Linked DNA regions of Homo sapiens: region 2 is linked to region 1. The links are contacts of gene promoters, found by promoter capture Hi-C in human tissues and cell types (Jung and others, 2019). All regions are on one chromosome and are shown on one strand. Each heading gives the region's core, a stretch centred on a gene start or on the middle of the fragment in contact. The rest is flanking DNA. Distances are from core to core; before and after follow the strand shown. Region 1 holds the start of RAB18 (RAB18, member RAS oncogene family). Region 2 overlaps MPP7 (MAGUK p55 scaffold protein 7).

Region 1 (4,588 bases), core at 1,555-4,054:
ATGTTTTTGTACTAATTCACTTTAAAAGGCATAGACTTCTATTTCAGTGGAGTCATTTATTCTCATCTTATCCAGAGTGTTTAAGATTGTTTTCCACAGCATATCACACAGGCCAATAATGTATATCTAGCTAGACAAATAAGACAACTTTCTCACTATATGTAATCCTTTCACAAAAGAAATAAAGTGACAAAATCCTGCATCGAGCAGTTGATAATCCATTGCTACGTATTGAGGAAAAAGTTTAAAACAGATTAGGCCCACGGTAAATTTGTTTCTTTGTTTCGGTGGCATGAACTAGGGAGACTGATAAATCCACTTAACAGGCCTTACTCTACAAGGAGAACCTCGGTTGGGTGTCATGCCTTGTGTCTGTAATCCCAGCACTTTAGGAGTATGAGGCAGGAGTTTGGCTTGAGCCTGTGTGTTGGAGACCACCTGGGCAACATAGGAAAATCCCATCTATGAAAAAAATTTTAGAAGTAGGGCCGGTTGTGGTGGCTCATGCTTATGTTCCTAGCACTTTGGGAGGTCAAGGCAGGAGGATCTGTTGAGCTCAGGAGTTCGAGACAGCCTGGGCAACACAGTGAGTCCTCCTCTCTATAAAAAATAAAAAAACACTAGTCAGACATGGTGACTCGTGCCTATAGTCCAGCTACTCAAAAGGCTGAGGTGGGAGGATCACTTGAGCCCAGGAGATTGAGACTGCAGTGAGCTATGATCATGCCACTGCACTCCAGTCTGGGTGACAGAATAAGACCCTGTCTCAAAAAAACAGCGGGTAGAGCAGAGGAATTTTGTTTATATACTCCAGTTAACCTTCCAGAAAATTTTAACATACCCTAACTTGTCATCCATGCAATACATTTAGAAAAAGTGCTAACCAACCATGTATTGGGTTGAACTACATGAAATGACAACCAACCATTCTTGACTTCAAAAACACTAATTTCATATGCCTGAACTTAAATGAGAACGATATCTCAAGGAAAAAAGGAGAAAAGAAAAAGAAAGATCACAAGGCTGTGAAATTCCTATTAAGACAACGTTTAACTTTTTAACACTCAAATATGTATGTGCAATAATAGATGATCATGTAAATAATTTTACTCATGCCTTTTACACACACACAGACAAATCATGCTGGTTTGCTAACTCATAGTATTTCATTATTCTATTCCTTGGTATGTGCAAATCCTTCATTCCAGTAGACACAGAGGACATTACATGAGGAACACTATGAAAATGTGTTGTCAAACTGGTGGCTCACGCCTGTAATCCTAGCACTTTGGGAGGCCGAGGTGGGCGGGTCACGAGGTCAAAAGATGGAGACCATCCTGGCCAACATGGTGAAACCCCATCTCTACTAACAGTACAAAAGTTAGCTGGGCATGATAGTGCGCGCCTGTAGTCCCAGCTACTCGGGAGGCTGAAGCAGGAGAATCGCTTGAACCCGGGAGGCGGAGGTTGCAGTGACCCGAGATCGCGCCACTGCACTCCAGCCTGGCAACAGAGCGAGACTCCGTCTCAAAAAATAAATAAATAAATAAGTAAATAATATCAGAATATATTACATAAGCTTTCAAATTCTGAAGAAGCTTTTAAAAAGTAAGACTTTATGAAGTGACTTTTACAAGTTATTTGAGGAGAGCTTTCATTCTAGTTTGTAGAATTAAGGCTATTTCAATTTATGAAATACAAAAAATTATTTGAAAGATACGTGTATCAGAAGGTATAGCTAAAATATGAAACTGATTACAGCCCCTGGAGTGCAAATGTGGTTTAAGGATCAGGACGGCCTTGAACATAACCTACTCATAATCAGATGGCAAGAATGACATCAGCTGGAGAACTCTCTTCCAAGACCTGGATGAAATCACAGCCCTCTAGCAACATCCACCTAGATCCATGTCTTACCTTATACTCAACTCCACTGTCAATATTATTTTCCCCAAGGAAAAAGTAAAAAATGAAAGCACAACACTAATCTTCTGTCTCCACAGGATGTGGCAAAATGAGAAATAACAATTACATTTTATTTTCAAAGGTGGCCCACGGCTGAAGCACTCGGACCTTACACTAAAGCGAAATTTTCCAGCAGTCACAAGATCCAGTTCTTTCACAGCCGACTAATAAAAAAGTAAAAGAATCGACATTAAGCTGCGCCCAAACAGGCCAGGAATGGGACCTAAGGCGTCACGAAACTTCCCGAGGACATTATGTATTTAGAGAAGGCCCCACAGAAACCCTCAAGTGGGAAAGCTATGTCTCCCGGGTCTCGGGGTGGCAGGCAGCCTGAACCCCGAGAGGTTCGAGGCAAGGCGCCCCCGGCCGGATTCGGGCCCAAACCAGCCCGCCACGCCCTGAGCTCCGCGCAGCAAACCTGCCGGCCGAGCGGCGGCCCTCGGAATGGTGTTTTCTCGGCGCTACAGGAGGGAGAGCGACCCAGAGAACTTGGGCCTGGCAAAGGCCGGGAACCAGGCAGGCGCGGGTGGGGAGAGGAAAGCAAACGTCGCGGGAGAGCGCGGCCCAGAGGCCGAGGAGGGCGCGAGCGGAGCCGGCCCGAGCCCGCCGCTGCAGTTTACAGTTCCCGTCGCGGCCCAGGAGACAGCAGCCACCGGGGCAGAAAGAGCCCAGCCACCCTCGTCACGACCCGCACCTCCGCCTCACCTGGACTTGCCCACCCCACTCTCGCCGATGATGAGGATCTTCAGGGTGGTTAGCACGTCCTCGTCCATCCTGACCCCGTTCCGCTCCGAGCCCAGCTGGCCGCCCGGGTGCGCCTCTCAGCCCTTCAGCAGAGTGAGCTGCTGCGCATGCGCGCCGCTCCACGTCTGCCACCTTCCTTTCACACCGGGTGTTCAGGCTGCCGAAGCCCTGGACTCCCCAGTTCCGCCTTGAGGTAGCTCCACGGCTGCGCGACCCAGAATCCCCGGCGTTTTTCCGGACTGCGTGTTCCTCCCCTGCGCAAGCGCAGGTGGGGAGCGCTGTGTGTGACTTTGTTGGCTTCTTCTTGAGGTCTAGCTCCGCCCCAGCCTCAACCTAACCCTCCTTTTGAGTCAGTGGGAGGACTCAGTCAGGAGAATATCAAGCTGTTTTATTTCGGCAGCTGCTCATAACAGCTGCACTGCGGTGGGAAAAGCACTGTGCTTGAAGCAGATTATCTTAAATTTAGGTCCAGCTCTACCTTATAACTGCCTTGTCATACTACCCAGCTTTCTTAGCCTTTCTCCATCTCTGAGAGACACAGTAACACTTCTTAGAACATCTGCTTCTTATTGTTATGAAGGTTAAGTGAGTTAATTTGTGAAGACATGTTGTTAACCAAAGTGCTCTATAAAAGGTGTGATCAGGTATTATCTTGCTGGCTTCCCCTCTGTTATAGTGGAGAGCACCCTCTGCACCCTAATTCATCTTGAAAGGGAGGCGTAGACTTCAGGTAGGTCAGGTGCATTACTTCTGGCGGTGCAACTTCAAGTCAACTCTCCTTCCTCATAAGAACTGCTACACCCATACTGCAGGAAGTGTATGTCTACACCTTGCCTCCTGCATTAAGTTGTAAATCTTAGTGAAGGTACCAAACCTCATTCATAATACTTAGCACAGTGCCTGGTACATGGCAGGCACTCAATAAACCTCAGTTCTCTTGTCTTATTTCCTTATACCTGCAGCTAATGTCATATACAATGGATATTTGATTAAAGACTACATATAAATAAAATTTCAAATGTTAAGAAATTAATTTGTTAAATAGCTGGAAAAGCCCTTTCAAAAGATATCCCAATGGCTTCTCCTCCTTCAGGTCTTCGCTCAAATGTTGCATTCTTAAAGAGGCCTTCCCTGTCCATTCTACTGAAATATGCAAATCCCTCCAGCATTCTCTAGACCTCTTTACATTGTTTTTCTGCATAGGATTTAACCACTCTCTGATACACTATATATTTTACTACTTTATTAGAAGTCTCATGAAGGCAAGGATATTTTGTTTTGTCTACTGGTATGTCTTCAGTATCTAGAGTACTTCATGGCACATAATATGTGCTAAATAAATGTATGCTGAATGAATTAATTGAATGAATGTTGTAGAGTCCATTCCTAACCTTAGAGAATAATGTCAATGAAACAACCTCCACTTCTCATCAGATAGCCCTTGAAACTTCAGTCAAGTCTATCTAGCTTACTTTTCATTATGACAAAAAGATCTTATTTATGAGGTTCACAGTATTGTCAAGCTCTCCTGCCCTGGGGTCCCGAGATCCCTAGAAATCCCTGAAAACCTTTCAGGGGGGTTGCAAGATCAAACTATTTTCATAGTTAATATGTTATTTTTTCATGCACATTCTCTGATGATAATATAATGGAGTTTTCCAGAGGCTATATATTAATAACATGTAATAGCAAAACAGATTGAAGGCAGAACAAGATATGTGAACTTACTGGTTTTCTATGATATTAAGCCAGATATTAAAGGGATTTCCTAAAATGTAAAACATTGCCACTGTTCTCAATTTTGTTCTGTTTTAAAGTAGTTATTTTCATAAACATTTCTATTAACTGGTAATAGGTTTATTATTGTTTTTAAGTAAAT
Region 2 (4,588 bases), core at 632-3,131, 670 kb before region 1:
TGGCCAGGCTGGTCTCGAACTCATGACCTCATGATCTGCCTGCTTGGCCTCCCAAAGTGCTGGGATTACAGGCGTGAGCCACTGCGCCCGGCCAGAACTCTTTTTACTATCGGTATGAATACAAAGATTTTTGTATATTTGATGAGTTTTAGTCCACTGCAATTATTCTTGTTTTTTTCTTTTCTTTCTTTTTTTTTTTTAAATTATACTTTAAGTTCTAGGGTACATGTGCACAATGTGCAGGTTTGTTACGTATGTATACATGTGCCATGTTGGTGTGCTGCACCCATTAACTCATCATTTACATTAGATATATCTCCTAATGCTATCCCTCCCCCACCCCCCCACCCCACGACAGGCTCCGCTGTGTGATGTTCCCCGTCCTGTGTCCAAGTGTTCTCATTGTTCAATTCCCACCTATGAGTGAGAACATGTGGTGTTTGGTTTTCTATCCTTGCGAAAGTTTGCTCAGAATGATGGTTTCTTTTTTTTTAGACAGAGTCTTGCTCTGTTGCTCAGGCTGGAGTGCAGTTGCACAATCTCAGCTCACTGCAACCTTTGCCTCCTGAGTTCCAGCAATTCTCCTGCCTCAGCCTCCCTAGTAGCTGGGATTACAGGCATGTGCCATGACACCTGGCTAATTTTTTATTTTTATTTTTAATAGAGATGGGTTTCACCATGTTGGTCAGGCTGGTCTCAAACTCCTGGCCTTGTGATCCACCCACCTCAGCCTCCCAAAGTGCTGGGGATACAGGCGTGAGCCACCATGCCCAGCCAGTGCAATTATTATTCTTTTTGATGCTAAAATGACCCCAGCTTTGGCCATTGGGAGTGCCTTCAAGTTGACTCCTGTGTTTTGTTTTGTTTTGTTTTGTTTTGTTTTGTTTTTGACCCAACTGCACTGGGCTTTGATTGCTTCTTTGCTTTTTGGCCTGACAGGGTCTCTCAGGCTTATTTTACACATTTCCTGCCCCTGTATATTTTAAGGTAGATTTCTAGAATTGAGAATTGCAGTGATGCAATCTCAGCTCACTGCACCCTCTGCCCCCTGGGTTCAAGTGATTCTCAATTCTAGAATCTCTTGTTAAATACTGTATTGGTTCCTAACAGTGACCAATAGGAATTCCTTTACCCTGCTCTTCCCAACTTCTAATTTAAACTACTATATACTTTTTTAAAACTCCCAATTAAAGGTAATCAATGAACTTATTTACTTTACATATATTATTTCCCTTCTCTTCCTAATTTTTGGTAGTTGTATTTGACCTGCATTGCTAGATTCTAAAAAAGCTGCATTCTACTTTTTACTCTGCCCCATTGTTTAACTTTAGTTAAATACAGTATATTGATGGTAACTATCATTTCTTATCCAAAAGCTTCTCTGATTATTTCAGAAATTCATCCCCTAGTTGCTCTCCCATGGAGAGGGCTCAGGGAGCAATTTTCCCTGAGCTCTTACAAGTTTTTCTTGTGGTCTTTACATTAATAGTTGAAGATCAGTTTGTCTAAAGTTAAAATCCTTGGTTCATAGCTTCTTGTTTTGAATATCTTAAGTATCATACTTCTTCAGCTTCTGGTATAAAGTGTTCGTAAGTATGGTGTCAATATAACTTTCTTTCCTTTATAAGTGTTTTTGTCTTGATGTTTAAAGAATGTTTTTTAAAATTTCTGATTCTTAAAAAATATTTCTCAGTGTTGACTGTTTAGTATCAGTTTTCCCAGATATTCAGTATGTTCTTTTAATCATGTATGTTCACATACTTTTATTTCATGGCATTTTAAAAAAATTCCTGCAGAACCCCAAAATGTACCCTCCTCTCCCCCATCTTCTTGCTCCTTTACTTCAAACTCTACTTCCTAAGTAAATCACTCGGCTCACTTTAAAGTTTATGGGTGGTTTGCCTGTTCTTGGAAGTTTCTTTTTTTCCTTTTTTTTTTTGAGACGACATCTCACTCTGTTACCCAGGCTGGAGTGCAATGATGCAATCTCAGCTCACTGCACCCTCTGCCCCCTGGGTTCAAGTGATTCTCATGCCTCAGACTCCCAGGTAGCTGGGACTATAGGTGCGCATCACCACGCCCAACTGATTTATGGATTTTTAGTAGAGATGGGGTTTTGCCATGTAAACCAGGCTGGTCTCAAACTCCTGACCTCAAGTGATCCGCCCACCTCGGCCTCCCAAAGTGCTGGGATGGCATGAGCCACCATGCTCAGCCATGTTCTTGGAAGTTTCTTTAAATGGAACCATGCAGGATGTATTTTGTTTGTGTCTTTCTTCTCTTGCTCAAATTATATGATTCATTTATGTTGTTACTAGATTAATTCATTTTTGTTACCAAACAGTATTCTATTCTGTAAGCATAGAACAATTTATCTATTCAACTGTCGATGGACATTTTTACCATTTCTGATTTTTGACCACTTTGGTAATGCCACTGCTGTTAGCAGTCCTGTACAGGTCTTTGCCTGAATGTGTATGTGTTTCTGTTGGGTATATACTAAGGAATGGAAATGTTGGGAAATAGGATTTTCATTCAACTCTTTGTATATGTATTTTCTTAAGGTATGATGTAAGAATGGAGTTGCGGGGTATCTTTGTTTTGTGTTGCTACAAAGGAATAGTCGAGGGTGAGTAATTTATAAAGAAAAATTTGTTTGGCTCACAGTTCTGCAGACCGTACAAGAAGCATGGTGCCAACATCTGCTCTTGATGAGGGTCTCAGGACGCTTCCACTTTCAGTGGAAGGCAAAGCGGAGCTGGCATATGCGTGTCCTATGGTGAGAGAAGGAGCAAGAAAGAGAGAGGAGAGGTGTCAGGCTCCTTTCATTAACCAGCTTTCATGGGAGCTAAGAGTGAGAACTCACTCTCTAGAGAATGGCACCAACCATTCACGAGGGATCTGTCCGCATGACCCACACACCTCCCAACAGGCCCCACCTCCAACATTTCAACATGAGACTTAGTGGGGCCAAAAGGCTCCCCATATCCAAACCATAGCACTGGGTAATTGGGTATTGTTGCGGTTTGTATTGCCACGATCAGTGTATGACAGTCGTTGCTGTTCCACACACACATTCTTGCTAGCCCTTGGTATGGTGGGGCTTGTCTTTGCTTTTTGTTTTTGAAGCCACTTTGGGGGCTGTAGTGGTATCTCATTGGTTTTAAATTTGGATCCCCAGATGACTAATGAGGTTGAGTACTTCTTCATATGTTTCGTATGGGACTGTTTCTGGACCGTCTGCTCTTTTCTGTTGTTCTGTCGCTATGTCAGTACCACAGTGTCTTATTTGCAGAAAAATCTGTTGGCATTTTGATGATTATTGCATTGAATTCATAGTTTAATTTGGTGAGAATGAATATCTTTACAATACTGAGTCTTATAATTCACAAGTGTGGTGACTCTTTCTATTTAGTTAGGTTTTCAGTTTCTCCCAGTAACACTTTCTAATTTTCTCTTATAGATCTTGCATATCTTTCACTAGTGTTTTTCCTAGGTGTTGAGAAAATGATTTTTAAATATTTGCTACTTAAGAATGGGGTTGCGGGTTATCTTTGTTTTGTGTTGCTACAAAGGAATAGTTGAGGATGGGTAATTTATAAAGAAAAATTTATTTGGCTCACAGTTCTGCAGACTGTACAAGAAGCATGGTGCCAACATCTGCTCTTGATGAGGGTCTCAGGACGCTTCCACTTACAGTGGAAGGCAAAGCAGAGCTGATACATAGAAATGCCTCATGTTACTGCAGTATTGTGCACTTAGAACATTTATTCCTTTATCTGTAGATTCTTTTGTTTGTTAATAATGCCAATTTTATTTCTTCCATGACAATTCTTTATCCATCTATTTATGTTTGCCTTATTGTTCAGTCTGGGACCTCTAAGTACATTGTTGAGTGGGTAGATCCGTGATAATGGATAATCCGTAGTAATGGTAGATCTGTAATAATGGATCTGCTTGTCTCTTTTCCTTCAAATTCTTTTTGTCTTTTTTTTTTTTTTCATCGCTACTCACCTATTGAGTCTGAGCCTTCTCTCCCCTGTGCTTTAGTATTCCTGCCCTGCTCACCCTGGTTCTCCTTTCAGAAGTTCCCTTCCTGTCTGGGGAACCACTACTTTTGGAAAGCATGTTTTGCCACTGTTGTTCCTCCCCCGGCTTATATTTTATTTAAAAGTCGATCAAACATTTTATTTTGTGTCCACCAAACTTGTGATATCTATAGGGTGAAAGTCTTGGTATTCATAGGATGGTTGAATAGATTAAAGGGGTCAGTCCACATGAAGCACCTGGAACAGTCCGGCCATAGTAAGCACTCACTGTTTATGTTGTAATTATTAGTAATAATGAGAAAATATCATATTCTTTCACTCATTCAACAAAATAACCATTTCAATAAATAATATTAAAGCTGGTAGTGACTGAAAGAAAAACATTGAGAATAAGACTAATTTATTGCTTGTCTGACTCACTTTTTGGCAAATGTGTAATTAGATACACGAGAAGCAATCATTAGTGTAATTGGTGTAATTTCTATAGCTCGGTGTAATTTCTATAGCTCAGAAAGTCTTTTTTTGGATATCGAGTTCTT

What was found. The method cuts DNA at HindIII sites, captures the fragments that hold promoters and counts their contacts. A contact is called where the count stands out against the background at its distance.
Region 2: a fragment that was not itself captured here is called in contact with the fragment with the promoter of RAB18 in region 1 in 1 of the 25 tissues and cell types used here (dorsolateral prefrontal cortex).

What each region holds. Positions count from the first base shown.
Region 1 is chr10:27,502,520-27,507,107 of GRCh38, reverse strand. It overlaps RAB18 (RAB18, member RAS oncogene family), which reads right to left and starts at 2,804. Exons shown (of 7, transcript NM_021252.5): 1 at 2,671-2,804. The coding sequence starts at 2,738. LOC124902399 (a long non-coding RNA gene) reads right to left here and starts at 2,663. Exons shown (of 2, transcript XR_007062097.1): 1 at 2,384-2,663; 2 at 2,016-2,129. RefSeq lists enhancers at 2,669-2,728, 2,839-3,108. The HindIII fragment of the contact is 16,305 bases long and covers 1-4,588 here.
Region 2 is chr10:28,172,641-28,177,228 of GRCh38, reverse strand. All of the region lies in intron 3 of MPP7 (MAGUK p55 scaffold protein 7), which reads left to right. Among named protein-coding and RNA genes, the nearest start is that of SNORD130, 100 kb to the right of the region's middle. The HindIII fragment of the contact is 6,242 bases long and covers 1-4,588 here.